Linked DNA regions of Homo sapiens: region 2 is linked to region 1. The links are contacts of gene promoters, found by promoter capture Hi-C in human tissues and cell types (Jung and others, 2019). All regions are on one chromosome and are shown on one strand. Each heading gives the region's core, a stretch centred on a gene start or on the middle of the fragment in contact. The rest is flanking DNA. Distances are from core to core; before and after follow the strand shown.

What was found. The method cuts DNA at HindIII sites, captures the fragments that hold promoters and counts their contacts. A contact is called where the count stands out against the background at its distance.
Region 2: a fragment that was not itself captured here is called in contact with the fragment with the promoter of IGSF3 in region 1 in 4 of the 25 tissues and cell types used here (bladder, liver, lymphoblastoid cells and 1 more).

Annotation. Positions count from the first base shown.
Region 1 is chr1:116,666,483-116,670,693 of GRCh38, reverse strand. IGSF3 (immunoglobulin superfamily member 3) reads left to right here and starts at 2,961. Exons shown (of 11, transcript NM_001007237.3): 1 at 2,961-3,076; 2 at 3,738-4,211. RefSeq lists a silencer at 2,727-3,116. The HindIII fragment of the contact is 6,759 bases long and covers 1-4,211 here.
Region 2 is chr1:116,575,246-116,579,456 of GRCh38, reverse strand. IGSF3 (immunoglobulin superfamily member 3) reads left to right here. Exons shown (of 11, transcript NM_001007237.3): 10 at 1-65; 11 at 1,895-4,211. The coding sequence ends at 2,145. Among named protein-coding and RNA genes, the nearest start is that of CD58, 6.3 kb to the right of the region's middle. The HindIII fragment of the contact is 7,997 bases long and covers 1-4,211 here.

The DNA.
Region 1 (4,211 bases), core at 1,712-4,211:
CACAGTTCTTTGCATATCGTAGATGTGGAAATTAGAAAGAATGCCATGCTGGGAATCAGCCATAACACATCTGGGTGGTGATGGAAGTCAAGGGTTGAAAGATCATCCAGAAGGATGCAAGGGGCCAAGTAGTATGAAGAGGGGCAGGTTGAGATTGAAAGAACGAGTAATAGAGAAGGGATAATTGAGTATAGGGGTTCAAGGATGAAGGCCTAGGCAGAGGCCTCAGAAAGTACAGTCTTGCACCTTGATGGGGGTACACCTTGGTGGGGGTCAGAGAGTTCCAAAGCAGGCTGAGATGCCCCTTCTGGAAGATTCCTTGACTCTTCTCTTTCTCTCCCCCTCCATATTCAGTTCTTCAGAGAATTTCATTGACTCTGCTTTCTAAATGCTTTCAGACTCCACCCATTTCCACAACCTGCATCAGCACCACCCTAGTTTAAGCTGTGATCATCTCTCACCTGCGCAATGGAAAGAACCTCCCATCCAGTGTCCCTTGTCCACCCCTACCATCTGATGCTCTATTCTTACCCAGCAGCCAGAGTGAGCCAAGCTCCTCAGGTTAGAAGGTCCTACTAGATTTGGCCTCTTTGACCTCTCTGATCACATTCCTCCTTCTCCTTCTGTTTTATGCCATTTCAGACACACTAACACACCTTTAATTTTCTGAACATGTTATGGGGCTTTGCACTTGCTGTTCCCTGCACTTGGAATCTTCTTACTCCAGAAATCTCCAGCGCTCACACACTCCCTGTAATCAGGTCTCGCTCAAATGTCACTTCCTCTGAGGGGTCTTTTCTGACCACCTCACCTAGCAAAGAGTCCTTCTTCCCACTGGAACCCCCAAACATACACACTATTTCTTTTCCTTTCTGTTTTTTATTTGTTTGTTTGTTTGTTTTGGAGATACTCTCGCTCTGTTGCCCAGGCTGGACTGCAGTGGTGTGATCTCAGCTCGTTGCAACCTCTGCCTCCCAGGTTCAAGCGATTCTCATGCCTCAGCCTCCCAAGTAGCTGGGACCACAAGTGTGCACCACCACGGCTGGCTAATTTTTGTATTTTTTGTAGAGACAGGGTTTCGCCATGTTGGCCAGGCTGGTCTCGAACTCCTGACATCAAGTGATCCCCCTGCCTTGGCCTCCCAAGGTGCTGGGATTATAGGCATGAGCCACTGTGCCCGCCCACACATTTCTATACTCCACTTTTCTTCAGAACACGTTACATTATATTATATACTTGTTTCATTGTCTGTGTTTCCCACCAGAATGTAAGCTTCATGAGAGCAGAGACTTTTCTTAACACGTAGTAGGTGCTCAATAAATAAATGAAGGAGTCTAGCAAATGGGAACTGAGAGCTGCCAGAGTCACGGGTGTCTCTGGGAAAGAGGTAATAATTAACACACAAGGAAAGATTCCTGGTTGGGCACAGTAGCTCATGCCTGTAATCTCTGCACTTTGGGAGGCTGAGGCGGGCAGATCACCAGGTCAGGAGTTCAACACCAGGCTGCCCAACATGGTGAAACACTGTCTCTACTAAAAGTACAAAAATTATCCGGGTGTGGTGGTGCACGCCTGTAGTCCCAGTGACTCAGGAGGCTGAGGCAGGAGAATCACTTGAACCCGGGAGGTGGAGGTTGCAGTGAGACAAGATTACACCACTGCATTCCAGCCTGGGTCACAGAGTGAGAACCTGTCTCTTAAAATAAAATGAAAAATAAAACGTATATCTGATAACCATAGTCCCTTACTCAACACCTTCAGTGGCTTCCCAATGGTCCCAACCCCTTAACACACCATACAATGCCCTCTAGGTTCTGGCACTCGATTTCTTCTCAGCTCATTTCTTGTCACTTCTCTCCTACAGTCAAGTTTGGGCCCAGCAGACTGTCCTGGTCCTCTAACTGGGCTCCTTTCTGGGCCTGCAGAGGTGCTGTTTCTTCAGTCTGCGATTCCTTACCTCCCCTCTGTCTCTTCCTCTGCTGCTGCCTTCTGTTCTTTGGCATTCAACCGAGTTTTCCTTTCCTCTGAGAAGCCTGGGACCTACCCCGACCAAAGCTCCCTCCTCCTTGCCCCTCCCCCAATAACACAGGGTTGGGGTCTCTGCATTTGCTTCCTCAACACTGTACTTTTCTTGTCATGTCTATTTTATGGTCTGTGTCCCCACTAGACTGCAAGTTGCATGAGGGCAGGGCGGTCTATTCTGCTTTGGTCGCCTCGTGACGGTGTCTACCCAGCAAGTTGTGTGTGTTGGGTAAGTAGTGAGAAAACGAAAAAGCACTTGCTTTACAGGGCGGTTGGTCATAAAATAATAATAGCTTATATTTACTGACCACTTGTGATGTATCAGGCACCATTCTAAATGCTTTACAAGTATGTCACAGATTTCTCCCATAACCCTCTTAAGTAAGGGTTATTTCCTCCACATAGCAGATGGGGAAATTGAGGCACAGAGAGGTTAAGTAACTTGCCAAGGGCCACAGCGAGGAAGTGGAGGAACCGGCGTTAGAACCCAGGCTGTTTCCAGAGTCCAAATTCTATCCAAGAGTGAAGTGCAATATGGGGTTCCACTTCGTGAACAGATTCAAGTCTCCAAAGGGCTTTGTTTTTGTTTCCAGGAGGAAGGACGAGCTTCTGTGCCGCCGGCTTCCCAGGTTATGGGTGGCCAGCTGGGCTTTGGGAAGGGCCTGTACATCTCGCCGGCGGCCCCGGAGTCTGGGTGTGAAGCCCTGATTAACTTGCCGGGCTGCTCGGCCCACACGCCAGCCCTGCCCAGGTCCTCCGGTGCCCCGGGCCACCCTCATGCCCCCGCCAGGCCCGGGGCCGGGACTCGCGTCTCCAGGGGCGGGGCCGGGGGCGGGGCCGGGCCTCTCTTCGAGGCCGCCGCCCTGGCCCCGCGCTCGCCTCGCCGAGTGCGGCGGGCCGGGCTGGAGCTGGAGGGGCGGGGACTCGGGAGGGGCCGCAGCGCGGCTGCTGGTGCCGTTGCGGGAGAAGAGGAAGCGGCGCGTCCCCTGAGGCGTGCGCCTGGATGGACTGAAGGACGGTCCGACGCGCGCGGAGGGAGAGGGCCAGGGGCGAGGTCAGGCTCGGCGGGGGCGCGGGCGGCGCCCGGAGGGGGCCCCGGGGAGGGAGGCGGGGAGGCGTGGAGCGGGGAGCGGGGAGCGGGGAGTGGGGAGCGGGCCCGCGCCGGCTGAGCTCCGGGTCGGGCCCGAGACCCCTCCCCTGGCTGGGCGGGCGCGCTGCGAGCGCGCTCCGGCAGCTGAAAGCGGAGCTCCGGACTCCCTTCTTCCCCGGTTTCTTTTCTTTCCAATCAGCGAGATATAAACACCCTGCAAGGTAAAACAATAGCGGGGCCACCTGGGACGCGTCGCGCGCAGAGCTCCCACGGTTGGGGCGGGGGCCGGGAGTCGCGGCCCCACCGCGGAGCCCCTTCCCGATTTGCCCTGGCGGAGGGTGGGGCTACCTGCGGCGCCCGGGCTCGGTAGGAGGTGACGGGAATTCCCAGGAGTGAAGCATTTGGTGGAAGTATTTCAGGAACAATCGGGCTTCCCACTGTTGCCCTGCTCTGGGCAGGGAAACTGAGGCGGAGGGAAAGACAGAGACTTGCCCAAGGTCAGAATGCAGAGGTTGACTGTCCTGGTCCAGGAACCGGACCCAGGTGTCCGGACCAGCTCAGCGCTCAGCCCCAGTGGGTTTTGCAGCTTTGCCTTTGATAAAAATCTCTGTTGTGTTTGTTTTAGAAATCTGCTCGCGCTGGGGTACCGCTTCAGGGCTGCCGAACGCCAACTTGCTTCGTGTGCCCTAGGCAGGCGTGGGGCAGGTGGCGCCTCCGTGACCTACCACCATGGATGGAAACGGACTTTTTGGTGAAGAAACCCAAACGGTTGATGCCAGGCAGGGTGATTTGGCCGTCAAAGGTTTTGACGAAACCTGCCCTGTTCTCTCTGGGGAATCCGAATGAGGGAGATCACAGACACCTTCACTGAGAAGCCAAGGACATTTCTGTATAATCAGTGGATGAAAGGATTTTCTCAGACCCTTTTTTCCGTGCTTCTGGAGGATTAATCCACTACAGTCTGCAATTTCAGTGGAAACTGCAAGGCACACGATGTGGCAGGAGCCGGGAGCGACTTCCGAATTGTTGTGGACCCTTCCTGTAGCATAGGGGAGTTTTCACACTTGCCTCCACTCCTCCCCTTCCCCCCAACTCCCTC
Region 2 (4,211 bases), core at 758-3,257, 90 kb after region 1:
GAAGGAATGGTACCGGCTGACGGAGGAGGAGTCAGCCCCCATCGGCATCCGTGTTCTAGATACAAGTGAGTTTCCCAAGTACAGAGGGAGGATGTCACTGTTGGTTCCAACTGTGTCTGGAAGATAAATTTGAGCTTGATTATGGGTTAATAAACAGTTTTCTTAACTGTCATGGGCATTTATTAGTAGGATTTGAGATATGGTGGGATTGGACATATTAGTTCATATAATTGACCCTTGATTACCCATGCAAAAATAGGGATAGAAATTAAAGTGATAACATACCATATAATCTTTATAATAAACTCGATGTTCTACCAGATTCAATTTTAGTAATATTTCATTATACTAGTATATTGTTAGGTGTTACTTTGTTATTTTTTAGAATATTGGAACTAGTCTTTAGCGAATTAGCAAGCGTTTCAGACTCACAAGGGAAAGGGAAAAAAATGAAGGCTGACTACCTCACTGTCATTATTTCTTTTTGTCCAGTTTCTGCGTTATTGTTATTTTGGAGGGTGCCTTGGAGGTTGAGGTGGATCTTGTATGGTTGGGAGGACCAGCCTAGAAGGGCTGTGATATTAGAGGAGAGCTGAGAGGGGATGGATTTGCAGCTGCCCAGAATGCAGTTTCCATGATCCTGAGGGACTTCCACTATGAACAGAGACTGGGGGAAGTATTGCTGGCCTGAATTATTTGTTGTAACAATGCACTCTTGGTTGGCTTGCCATCAAAATGTGGACTACATTAGACTAAAAATGGTGTTATAGTAGAATTAGCCTAGAATACAGAAAGAAAAAAAAGATTGCTGGAATTTTTAACTTCTTTTTAGTCAAAACATTTTTCAACATCATCTTGATTTGAGTTTTTAAAGTTTGGGCCACTATTTTTTTGCCTTGATCACCCCGTGCTCACATTGTGTTAGAACCATATGAAATTGGAGTTTTGCAGGTCAACAATGGTGGACTATCAGCAGTTTCATACACTTTGGAAATTGAATAACAGGCAGATTAAATGTTCTTAATAATACTGATGAGCAACAGCTATTCAGTAAAAGGGAAAGCAGGCTGCATCATACATAGACCACCCTGTGATCCACTGAATAACCCACTGCCTCAAAGCGAAAACAAAGCAGTCTAGGCAACATTTTACCTGTCCATTGTGGATGTCCCTAATTATTAAGCTTCATCGAGCACAGAGGTCACCCAGCAGCCTTATTTTACAGAGAAAACAGGGGCTCCCAGAGGCTAGGCTCCTGCCAAGGTCTAATGACTTATAGAGCAGCCCTCAACCTGTCTTGGGGCGCCTGGTTTATTCTCTTCCATATCCAGCTATAACTAATACTGTGTTCTTTGTGGCCACGGACACACTGTGGACGTTTGTAAGTGGTCCATAATGACATTTAATTGATAACATTAATCAGGTAAGTGTCATTTCTGGTAAAACTGCTCTCAGAAGCTGGCAGGAAGGGATTGTGTCATAATCCCAGAGAAGGAAGTCTGTAGCAGAACTAAGTGCAAAGGGGCATGTAAAATCCAACCATGCAGGAGGCTCCGACTGAACCAGAGCAGCTTCTTCACCATTCTAGATGCAGTTGAGTTCACAATCAATAAATTATGTTTCATTATGTGGCTTTCCAAGCAGCAATAATGGCTCTCAATGGAAAACAGAAGCATTGCTTTGTTGGAACATACAGCCGTAAATTAGGAGAGGTGTTGCGAGAAAAAGAATATAAGGGTCATCTTCCACCATTAATGGTAGCAGGGGAAAGACAAGGTGGTGTGGGAGTGTCACCGAGGAGCTTCCACTGGGTCAGGTGAGGTCTTCAAAAGGAAATGTGAGCAGTCCAGGTTCTCAGCCCTCATTGTCTTGTCTCTCTCATGATTCTTTTCAGGTCCCACCCTCCAGTCCATCATCTGCTCCAACGACGCACTCTTCTACTTCGTCTTCTTCTACCCTTTCCCCATCTTTGGCATTCTTATCATCACCATCCTTCTGGTGCGTTTCAAGAGCCGGAACTCCAGCAAGAACTCTGATGGGAAGAATGGGGTGCCTCTGCTGTGGATCAAAGAGCCACACCTCAACTACTCCCCTACTTGCCTGGAGCCCCCTGTTCTCAGTATCCATCCAGGGGCCATAGACTAAGCGGGTGATGCCCCAGCGGATGTTGGCCACGGAGGAGCTGAGGCTCTCCCTTTCTCTGTGATTGGACAGTTGACAGCACCCAAACTCTGGGGTGCATGTGTGTGGAAAGTTGTCAGACTTGAAAAGTGTTCCAAGTTCCCAGTCAGTCACAGAGACAGACTGCCTCTCGGTGGCAGTCTTGGTTGGTTAGCTATTTGCGCGCAAATGTTGTGATCCTGCCATTATAGATTTCTTGTTTCTGTTTTTAGTAATGTAGTGAGTAGCTCCAGGTGCCACATCTACTCACAGATTTATCTAGTATTCTCAGATAGATGTTACAGGGCTTCTTATTCTTTGTAATGTACTCTTTTTAAATCCCTTTAGTTTACCCTTTTTGGATTCCTTAATGTGGACGAATTTCTCTTACGTACAACTGACAGCAAAAGGAAGGGCGAACTTTCTAGTGACAAGGAATCTCTTCCAAGACTTTGTTTTTGCACATTTGAAAATGCCACCCATGGATCAAAATATACCCAAACGTTTTTTACTTTCTTAACAAGACTTAAGAATTGTGTGTAGTGTGGGCAAAATTTGTATGTTGTCTTTTCCCTCAGCTGGAGTTATTGGAACCACTTTGTAGTCAAGACGAAAGCACTGAATTTTGCTTCAAAGAACTGTGTATGTACAAGAGAAATCCTGCATAACCCCATTAGGAGTAGATGGTGCCCGGCCTATCTGTCAGGGAGGCAAAAAAGGCTTCATCCCATCCTTGCCAAAAAATAAGAAAACTGTCTTGGAGAATGGGTCAGAAGCCCCAAACGGCACACACTTTCCAAATTAAAGTGGGCAGGGGCTGCTTTTAGCAGCTGCTGACCTGCAGATTTGTCAAAGCCAGTGACTAGAGAAGGAAGGGAGAAAGGCTGGCTGTTGGCTTGCTCTGAGCTGCAAGGATGGTCTCTAACTGATTAACTGTGAGCAGGTGGGCCTGTGTCTTCAGGTGCTTTGCCAAACTCTTAAAAGAAAGTGTCCAGTGAACTTGGAAGTGGGCCCCTGAGCTGAGCACAGGGCCAAAGCAGCCATGGCAGACACCTGACGGAGGGCACGGGGCTGGCTGACACTAAGTTTGGTGGGACAGTGAGGGGTGGGAGGGGGGTTTCCAGGGCCTGGTGTTGGAGAGTGCAGAGAAATATCTACCTCCCTGGAGGTGTGAAGACTAGGTTTTTCTTCTTCCTTCCAATTAGATTTTCCTTAATTATAGTGATGTCTTCCTTATTCATTTTTCTCTCCCTGCCTCTCACTGCCATAAGAATATCAGCCTGGGGGCAGTCCAGACGCAGCCCTTTGTCATCCTTTCTGTTTGCCTAGTCTCAGCAGACTGTGATCACAAGGCATTGTCTGTGGGATTTTTCCTTTCCCTTTCTTGATCTCTCTTGTGGTTCTAGGTTGTTTGGTTGTTCATTGTTATGGTGGCTTTTTATTTTAACGCCCCTTGAGCCCCATGATGGCTGGTGTCACCCTGTTCTTTTACACTGTTGGGCCAGGTGCTGCTTGTCCTTCTTAGGGCATCATCAATTGCAAATATTTCCTTTTGCTCCCTTTATGAAGATGTTCTTATACCCTTGCTTTCCCATATTTTTCTGGCCAAGCATGCCATCTCCTTTACTCTGGGAACTTACATCCTGAATCCCAAGAGGGGGTCACAGTTTGGAAAAAGTCATCAGGGATTCTGGAACTAAGTCTGATAAAAGATTCCAGTGAAGCCCTGTTCTGAGAACGAGCAGACTGCAGGGGAGGCCATGGGATTCCCCAGGCCAGTGTCTGTGCTGATCCTTCAAGGGTCTGCAGGTATGCAGGTGGCCTGGGCTGCTCGGCAGATACTTTGCTGATTCCCAGCTGAGGGGAGCATGGTGGCGATTGCTCAGCCATTTTCTGACAGACACACAGACCTGCCTTTTCTCCCCCAAGTATACCGTACCCTCCTGTGAGACAGTGTGTGCAGGCACCACCACCTTAATCCTGCTGTTGCCTGACATGCTGATTCTCATTTATTATGCTGCATCAACACATTAGAGGTACAGGAGCGGCTC